Regions from separate parts of the Homo sapiens genome. Here region 2 is linked to region 1. Evidence: promoter capture Hi-C in 16 types of primary human blood cells and fetal thymus (Javierre and others, 2016). All regions are on one chromosome and are shown on one strand. The core of a region is centred on a gene start or on the middle of the fragment in contact, and the rest is flanking DNA. Distances in the headings are between cores, read along the strand shown.

Evidence for each region. The method cuts DNA at HindIII sites, captures the fragments that hold promoters and counts their contacts. A CHiCAGO score of 5 or more calls a contact.
Region 2: a contact is called between a fragment that was not itself captured here and the fragment with the promoter of COX4I2 in region 1, in 3 of 17 cell types (erythroblasts, M1 macrophages and megakaryocytes). The highest score is 7.4, in erythroblasts.

The regions. Positions count from the first base shown.
Region 1 is chr20:31,635,769-31,640,525 of GRCh38, reverse strand. It overlaps COX4I2 (cytochrome c oxidase subunit 4I2), which reads right to left and starts at 2,614. Exons shown (of 5, transcript NM_032609.3): 1 at 2,564-2,614; 2 at 1,427-1,508; 3 at 429-593. The coding sequence starts at 1,508. RefSeq lists a silencer at 2,554-2,693. The HindIII fragment of the contact is 5,408 bases long and covers 1,217-4,757 here.
Region 2 is chr20:31,783,257-31,788,013 of GRCh38, reverse strand. It overlaps TPX2 (TPX2 microtubule nucleation factor), which reads right to left. Exons shown (of 18, transcript NM_012112.5): 12 at 4,093-4,309. Among named protein-coding and RNA genes, the nearest start is that of MYLK2, 34 kb to the left of the region's middle. RefSeq lists an enhancer at 1,895-2,394. The HindIII fragment of the contact is 247 bases long and covers 1,937-2,183 here.

The sequences.
Region 1 (4,757 bases), core at 1,365-3,864:
CATGCAGTTCCCACTCCCTGGCAGTGCCCTCCTCTTCACCCTTAAAGGCCAGCTGGAATGTGCCCTCCTCTGGGAGGTCCACCAAGATTTCATCTCACAGTCCTTGAACACACCTCACCCTAGCCACATGTTCTGTATTACAATTATTGGAGTCTGTATTGGTTTTCCCCACGGGACCGGGGGCACCATGGGGGCAGGAACTATCCAGGTGATTCACCTCATGTCCCCAGCATTGCCTAGCATCAGGCTATGCACAAACAGGTGAGTGAATAAAGAAACGAACAAAGGCATGAACTTCACCCCTCAGGTGTTTGGAGGTTTCTGGCTGTCTTGGGGGCCTCTCTCTGCCCTCTGATCCCTGACAGGCCATTCTTTCCAAAGTCAGCCCCCAACCCACTCTCTCCAGCCAGCCCCACCCTGACACTTACAGGCCACCTTTTCGGCGTGGGTCAGCTGGGTCCAGCTTCCCTTCTCCTTCTCCTTCAGGGCCTGCTCCTCAGCGTTGAGTTCTGTGCAGAAGGGCTCTTCTGGCATGGGGTAGTAGCGCTGGGCATAGCAGTTGGTGTAGGGGGACATCTTCCCCCCACCACGGGCTGCAGACACAATGGAGGGAGCTGAGTCCAGGCTGCCCTTGGGACACCCTATCTCTAACTATATTAATAAAGAAGGTGGCCGGGCTTGGTGGCTCATGCCTGTAATCCTAGCATTTTGGGAGGCTGAGGCGGGTGGATCACGAGGTCAGGAGTTCGAGACCAGCCTGGCCAAGACAGTAAAACCTCTCCTCTACTAAAAATACAAAAATTAGCCGGGCGCAGTGGTGGGCACCTATAATCCCAGCTACTCGGGAGGCTGAGTCAGGAGAATTGTTTGAACCCAGGAGGCGGAGGTTGCAGTGAGCCGACATTGCGCCACTGAACACTCTAGCCTGAGCGACAGAGCAAGACTCTATCTCAAAAAAAAAAAAAAAGGAGGTTTATAATAGCTTGGGGTACTAGTAAGGGCTCAATAAATGTTATCTTTGTTATTCTCCATGGGTCAGCAAGGCCCTTCTGCTATCTGGCTGAAGTCTCTCCTACTTTAGGTCTCTTTCTTCTTACTAGCATTGAAACTAGGGTCTGGAAAGGAGGAATCAGGGTCCAAGGTTCTGTCAGCATCCTCCACCTCAGAACAAAAGGTCTAGGGGCCTGAGGCTTGGGGGCTGGCTCCTAAGGAAGCTTGGAATGGAGATGACCACTGTCTGCTCACCCCGCGCACTCCATTTCCTGGAGAAACTTGACCTTGGACCAAGGAGTGGGATCATGGGAACATGGGAAGTGTGGTAGGAACAGGCCCAGGGTGGCATGGAAGGGCAAAGGGGGCAGCCTGCAGAGGGGACCCCTGCCCCTATCTCTGGAGTTAGGCAGGGAGGAAGGAGTCCAGGTCTCACTGGTGCCTTCTGAGCTGTGCATCCCTCGTCTTCCACCTCCACCTTTCCTCAGCACCAAGCTCCAGGCAGCTCTGGGGAGCATCTGGGGGCGTGAAGGTATAGATGAGTTCTGCCCCCACATCACCCTCTGCCCCCAAACCGCAGGGCCAGATGGAAAAATCCTTTTCCACTGGTATGGTAGTGGTAGGGGTGTCCCAGTGTTTCAAGGTCACCCTCATGCCCTTGACCCTTCTAATTTTGTCTGATATCCCCAGCGGGGGGCCAATGGGGGTCCTAGACCTTTGAAGCCCCTTTTTGGGACCTCAATTCACCATCTGAGAAGTGGGAGGAGGCCTAAGTCTTGGGCCAGGGTCTGAAGAGTTTGAGGCTGAGGGCTTGGGTTCTGGTGCCAGCCCCAGCTCAGTCTGGCCAGATTGGAGAACCCCGCTCACTTGTTTGCTCCCCAGAGGAAGCTGGGTGGGGTCCAGGTGGAGAGGGAGCAGTTCTTGAGTCTCTCTTCCCTGCAGGGGCCAGAGGCCCCTGCACCGGCAGAACAGACAGACGGTCTGGCCCCCACCCCTTCCCCCCTAATTGGCTGCCTACGTGCACACAGGCCTGCTCTGCTGGATCTGGTTGGGGTGGGGACTGGGCTTAGCCAGTCTGGCTGAGCCCAGTCTCCCACCCCCAGGGAAGACTCAGGGTTTGGCATCCATGGTGGTGGGGAGGGGCTTTAGAGGATGGGGACTTAACTGGGTCAGAGGGAGGGAGACACACATCTGGGGAAAAGAAGGGGAGTCCCACATCTAGGGAGAGAGAGGGGCACCCAACAAATAGAGTGAGGGAGGGGGCACACTACAGGTGATAAGTGGGAGGGGGCGGCCCACACTTCTGGAAAAGAGGGGCTCCGGCCAGTGATTATGATTAGTGGGTGGGAGAGCTCCACATATCAAGAGAGGGAGGATGTAATCTATATTTGGGGAAAGAGATGGCACACATATGCAGACTCCCCAGGAGTCTTCAACTCTAACCTACAAGAAGCCCCCCAACCCTCTAAGACAGGGACCACTGGGGCGTGACCCAGCGGCGAAGGCAGGAGACCGAGCCGCGCCCCTGACCCGCGCGGGCTTGGGTGGCGGGGTCCTCCCCCAACTCACTCACCTCGCGGGCTCGGCAGTGGGAGCGCGACCTGGGTCTGCCCAGCGAGCAACTGAGAACCCGCTGCGGAGGGACCTGAGTGCGGGCGCCCGCCCCCGGCCCGCCCCACAGCCTTTCTCGGGGCCGCCCCAGCGTGGGAACGTCCTGCTTCGGCAGGGCGTGGGAGCGCACAGCCTGCGTCCCTGGGGGCACCCCGGCCCACAGATTGGGGGGAGGCACTGCAGAGCGCCTCCTGCATCAGTGTCCCTACCGGGGTCCTGCCTCTGGAGACCCTCTGCAGACAGTAGTCCCAAGAACAGGGTCTCCCTGCCTCCTCCACACCTCCCCTCCTTGCTGTTTCTCCCACCTGGGATGTTCTCTTCAGGCCTTTGCAGACGCAAACCTTCCAGCCAGGCCCAATGCCTCCTACTCCAGAAGCATCTTTTAGGCCAGCAGTGGCTCACGCCTGTAATCCTAGCACTTTGGGAGGCCGAGGCGGGAGGATCACCTGAGGTCAGGAGTTTGAGACCAGCCTGCCCAGCATGGCGAAACACCTTCTCTATTAAAAATAGAAAAATTGGGCGGGCGCGGTGGCTCATGCCTGTAATCTCAGCGCTTTGGGAGGCCAAGGCAGGCAAATCACGAGGTCAGGAGTTTGAGACAGCTTAGCCAACATGGTGAAACCCCATCTTTACTAAGAATACAAAAATTAGCTGGGCGTGGTGGCACGCACCTGTAATCCCAGCTACTCAGGAGGCTGAGGCAGGAGAATCGCTTGAACCCGGGAGGCGGAGGTTGCGGTGAGTCGAGATCCGGCTACTGCACTCTAGCCTGGGCAGCAGAGCTAGACTCCATCTCAAAAAAAAAAAAAAAAAAAAAAAAAGTTAGCAGGGCGTGGTGGCGCGCACCTATAGTCCCAGCTTCACAGAGGGCTGAGGCAGGAGAATCACTTGAACCTGGGAAGCGGCTGTTGCAGTGAGCCGAGATCGGGCCACTGCACTCCAGCCTGGGCAACAGAACAAGACTCTGTCTCAGAAAAAAAGAAAAAGAAAAAGAAAAAAAAAATTCCCAGCACTTTGGGAGGCCAAGGGGGGCAGATCATGAGGTCAGGAGATGGAGACCATCCTGGCTAACACAGCGAAACCCCGTCTCTACTAAAAATGCAAACAAAATTAGCCAGGCATGGTGGCAGGCGCCTGTGGTCCCAGCTACTCAGGAGGCTGAGGCAGGAGAATGGCTTGAACCCGCAAGGCAGAGGTTGCGGTGAGCCAAGATCATGCCACTGCACTCGAGCCTAGTGACAGAGCGAGACTCCATCTCAAAAAAAAAAAAAAAAAAAATAGACAAGGCTCAGGCACATTTATTCAAGAATTACTTATAAAACTGGGCGTGGTGGCTCATGCCTGCAATCCCAGCACTCTGGGAGGCGGAGGCGAGCAGATCACCTAACGTCAAGAGTTTGAGACCACCCTGGCCAACGTGGTGAAATCCCGTCTCTACTAAAAATACAAAAATTAGCCGAGTGTGGCAGGGGACACCTATAATTCCAGCTACTCGGGAGGCTGAGGCTAGATAATCGCTTGAACCTGGGAGGCAGACGTTGCAGTGAGCCAAGATCGCACCACTGCACTCCAGCCTGGGTGGTAGAGTGAGACTCCTCAAAAAAAAAAAAAAAAAAAAAAAAACTTAAAAAAAACTTATAAAGACCTGTTTCAGCTGGCATTTATTGCATACTTGTTTACCAGGATAAATGTTGGGGGCTATAGAGCCAAAAAAAACCAGACATAGTTCCTGCCCCCACAGGGCTTACAATTCTGTTCTAGGCAGAGGAAAAGGCCTGTGCAAAGACCCAGAGGCAGGAAAACACAGCATGTTCAAAAAACAGAAGAGACAGGCCAGGTGCAGTGGCTCACGCTGTAATCCCAGCACTTTGGGAGGTCAAGGCAGGTGGATCACAAGATCAGGAGATCGAGACCAGCCTGGCTAACACGGTGAAACCCCATCTCTACCAAAAATACAAAAAATTAGCCAGGCGTGGTGGCATGCACCTGTAGTCCCAGCTACTTGGGAGGCTGAGGCAGGAGAATCGCTTGAACCCGGGAGGTGGAGGTTGCAGTGAGCCAAGATTGCACCATTGCACTCCAGCCTGGGCGACAGAACGAGACTCCGTCTCAAAAAAAAAAAAAAAAACAACTGAACAGAAGAGACAGCCAGGTGC
Region 2 (4,757 bases), core at 811-3,310, 150 kb before region 1:
GGAACTTCAACATGCAAACCTGCCTCCCATTCAAAGATGAAAAAGGTACATACCTCCCTCACAATTTGCCCACTTGAAAATTCCTTGGGGGCCCCAAGTTCTTCACCCTAAAACAGTTCTGTTGAATTTCACCCTGACAATATAAATTGATAGCTTATCTTCACAGGTACAGGACAAAGGACAGAACTCAAAGTCATCCCTTGGCTCACCTGAGAAATGCGTATCTGATTGCTTCCTCTGCCCTAATTATCTTATGTAAAAATGCAGATTCACTGAACTAGATGAATGCATAAGTAACTATTCCTCTACCCCCTCTCACATGTGAACAAAGAATGCAACCATTTGCCTCTTACCTACCCATACCTTTTCAAAATCTCTTCCCCTTTCCCCACTATCCACCCTTTCCCCTTAAAATATGAAGCCCTCAAAATCATCTTTGGAGAAAGGTACAGACCTGTCTCCCAGGCATGCATCCTTAACCTTAGCAAAATAAACTTCTAAATTGATTGAGACCTGTCTCATACTTTTTGGTTTGCACCCCTTTCAAAACCTCCCTTTCTGAAAAGTGAAGCGGGTAGAAGAAAACACATCTAACATCTCTTCCTATGCTATGCTTCTCTAGAAACCAAGAGTTGAAGTCAAATCACTGGAAATTTTAGTAGGGAAACCTGCAAACAGCCAGTGTCAAACTCAGAAACCTCATTTGCCAAAATAAATATGATAACAGTAAGCATTGTAGGGTACAATAATACAGTGTTTAAGGAGATGATGGGCTCAGATTCTGGTTCTGCATACTAGATACCTCTCAGTGTTTATTCCCTTGTCTGAAAAATAGGGATAAGTATAGACTCCACCTCTTAGAAGTGTAATCAGACATAAATAAGACAATCTACATAAAGTACTCAGGACAATGTAAGCACTCAATAAAATGACAATTACTATTAATAATACCCCTGCTTACTGCGTGTCAGGCACCATACTCAGTGCTTTATCTGGGCTCCCTCTGTGATGTACCCAACAAATCTGTTTATGTAATAAGAGCCCCAGAGGATTCTGAGAACCAGCTGGATTTGGCAAACACTTCCATTCCGCAAATCGTATCAATTCGGTCACACCTTACCTAGTGCTTTGCAGATCTGTTTACACAGAATTTTCACAGGTATAACCTGGTACCCAACTACTCTAAGATCTCAACTAACTCCTAATGAACTCTGGTCACCCTTCCCTACTTACTACTTCACCCTAGCATTTCTAGAGTACACACAACTGACAAACCAATTTCCTAATCAGTGTTTTCAAAAATGTAGTTCAGCTGGGTGCAGTGGCTCACGCCTACTATCCTAGCACTTTGGGAGGCCAAGGCAGGTGGATTGCTTGAGACCACGAGCTCAAGACCAGCCTGGGCAACATGGCGAAACCCAGTCATTACTAAAAATACAAAACTTAGCTGGGCATGGTGGTGTGTGCCTGTATTCCCAGCTACTCAGGAGGCTGAGGCATGAGAATTGGTTGAACCTGGGAAGCAGAGGTTGCAGTGAGCTGAGATTACACCACTACATTTCTGCACTCTAGCCTGGGCAACAGAGTGAGATTGTCTCAAAAAAAAAAAAAAACAGTAGTTCAGGTGTGACTGATGCTATGAGAAAGGATCTTAGGTGAGGTGTAGACTGTTGTTTTTTTTTTTTTTAAATAAGCACATACTTCCTAAGAACCTTCTATTTTAAAAGGTAACCTCTATTTTTATATAACAGCATGGACCCTGGAATCATATCACCTAAGATTCGTATGCTAGCTCTGCCGCTCACTAGTTTGTGATTTTGGGCAAGTTATTTAACCTCTATGTTTCCTAACTGTAAAATGGATTAAGTACCTACAGTGCTTACCTCATAGGGTTGTTGTGAGAATTAAGTGCATTATTATATAAATGTAAAAAGCTTAGAATAAAGACCTGGCATGTAATAAGCATTATATAAGTATTAGCTATTATTGCTGTGTTATTTGTGGCAAAAGGTACTGGTTTTCCATTTACATATTTATTTAAAAGTTCCCTTTAAATTTACGTTAGGTTACAAAGTGAGTTGATTTTTAAAATAATAATATTGGTATGTAAGGTACAAGGATATAGGACAAATTGAGAGAGTGGTACATAAATAAAAACAAAAACTTAGGTAGGGGGAAAAGCTTGGAGGAAAATATGTTATTAAAAGCAAGGTGCCAGCCAGGCACGGTGGCTCACGCCTGTAATCCCAGCACTCTGGGAGGCCAAGGCGGGTGGATCACCTGAGGTCAGGAGTTCGAGACCAGCCGGGCTAACAAGGCGAAACCCCGTCTCTACTATAAATACGAAAATTAGCCAGGCGTGGTGGCATGCGCCTGTAATCCCAACTACTCGGGAGGCTAAGGTGGGAGAATCGCTTAAACCCGGGAGGCGGAGGTTGCCATGAGCCGAGATCACGCCATTGCACTCCAGCCTGGGCAACAAGAGCTAAACTCCAACTCAAAAAAAAAAAACAAAACAAAAAACCAAAAGCAAGGTGCCAAAAGAGTGTTATAGAAACCCTGAAGAAATAATTTCTCTTATCTGGGGCTCCATTATCTTGTATGTAAAACTAAACGTTGAGCCCTTCTGGCTCTACAACTCTGAGGTTTGCATATAACCTACTTTTCCCTTGTTGTATTCACAACACTGTTTCCTCAATGGGTAAAGACAAAGAAGGCACAGCCCTTGGAGATTAATCACTTGGGTGGGGGAAGATTTCTTAACAGTTTATTGTAACAGAGCTTGGCATATAGTACATATGCATCATGGCAGGGAAAAAAAAGCATCGTGAACAGAAGTCACGCAAAAAGCTCTCAATCAAAAGTAGGTATCAGGGAGGAGAACCATTTCTAAGCATAATCATGATTTTTGTAAAGCCTGGAAAATATAACTTCAAGTTGCTTCTGATTTAGTGCTAAGAAAATACAATAAACAAAACTAGGTACTCAGTCAAAGGTAATACATTGGTGCAGTTTCCCCTAAAAGCATGGTGACTCTAAAGCAAGCAAAAAGAAAGAAGATAGGAAAACAGAGTGCTTCTAGAGTTATCCCGGACCTGCATCAATCCAGGCAATCCAAACCAGTGGCGGCGGGTGAGGTCCTCATCTGCACTGAAATGTAACTAAAAGCCGCTTTCGCATTTATGCAGGTGCTTAACTCCATTGCTTATTCTCTGACTGTAGCCTTGCTTCCTGATTGCACATTTTCTCTAAACTTGTGGTTGTGAGCCTATTATCAAACTACAACTCACTTCTCTGAAACAGTTTCCAGTGGCTCTTGATAAACTTTTCTCCAGCTTAACTGACCCACTAACAGCTCCCAGTAGAAGCTTCTTGTTTCCCACCGTCAGGCTTTTTATCATGTAATTCCTACTGCCTGGAATGTTCTGCCAATCCAGTCCATTTGCATTTCTGCAAGTCAAAATTCTATCATGTAATGGAGAGGCATATAATGAGGTATTAGGATCACAGACTCTGTAGCTAGAGTGTCTGAACTCTTACTTGCTCCACCATGTACTAGCTGAGTGCTCTAGGAATACTACATAACCTCTGTGTGCCTCGGTTACCTCATCTGAAACAGGTGATAAAATAACCCACCTAAAGGGGTTGTTGTCAAAACTAATGGGCTAATATATGAAAAGGGCTTAGAGCAGTCCTGGCACACAGTAAAATTGTCAGCTATTATGACAACAATAGCAACACAATAACTATTACTACAGTACATCGTCAAGGCTCAGGTCAAATGTGCCTCTCTACAAAGCACACCCTGAACTTTCTATCTGGAAGAAACCATTTTCTCCTCTGAATTCCTATTTTAACTGTCATCTCTCTCAGAACACTTCTGTCCATTTTCTATTATTCACACATATATTGTCTCCCATACCAGACTTTGAGTTAACTAAAAGCAAAATCCACTTCCGATAAGTCTCTTTATCACCTGCAGTTCCTAATATGATGCCCTGCTCATAATATCTACCCAAACTTTTGTGTGAATGGGTGGATATCTGGTCATGAGCAGTACACTTCTGCCAGCACACATAGCCTCAACCTTACCACAACATCTTCCAAAATCTTAGTAGGGCAAGGTCTGGAATGAAATTCAAAGTGTTCATCCTCTGTTTTCTTCTTTGATTCTCGCTCCTGGATTCTTTTCTCAATTTCCAAATCAAAGCCAATAGGCTCGGTGGGTGGTTTCACAGGTGGTTTCTTGGGCAAGATGGGCCCACCTTCAAGTATTCTGGGATCAAGTTCACGTGCTTTGAATTTGTATCTGTAAGGTGAAAATTTAAATAACCACAAAAAAAATTTTAATAAAATGAAAACTTCACAAACAAAGTAAGCCAACCACAAAGAATAGTAATCATTAAGATTATGCTCCCATTGACTGGACAACAGAATAAAATAAATAAAAACGAAAAACAATGGGCCAGGCACGGTGGCTCATGCCCGTAATCCCAGCACTTTGGGAAGCCAAGGTGAGCAGATAATTTGAGGTCAGGAGTTCAAGACCAGCCTGGCCAACACAGTGAAACCCCATCTCTACTAAAAATACAAAAATTAGCTGGGCGTGGTGGTGCACACCTGTAATCCCAGCTACTAGGGAGGCTGAGGCAGGAGAATCTCTTGAACCCAGGAGGCGGAGGTTGCAGTGAGCTTAGAGGCACCACTGCACTCCAGCCTGAGCAACAAGAGCGAAACTCCATCTCAAAAAAAATAAA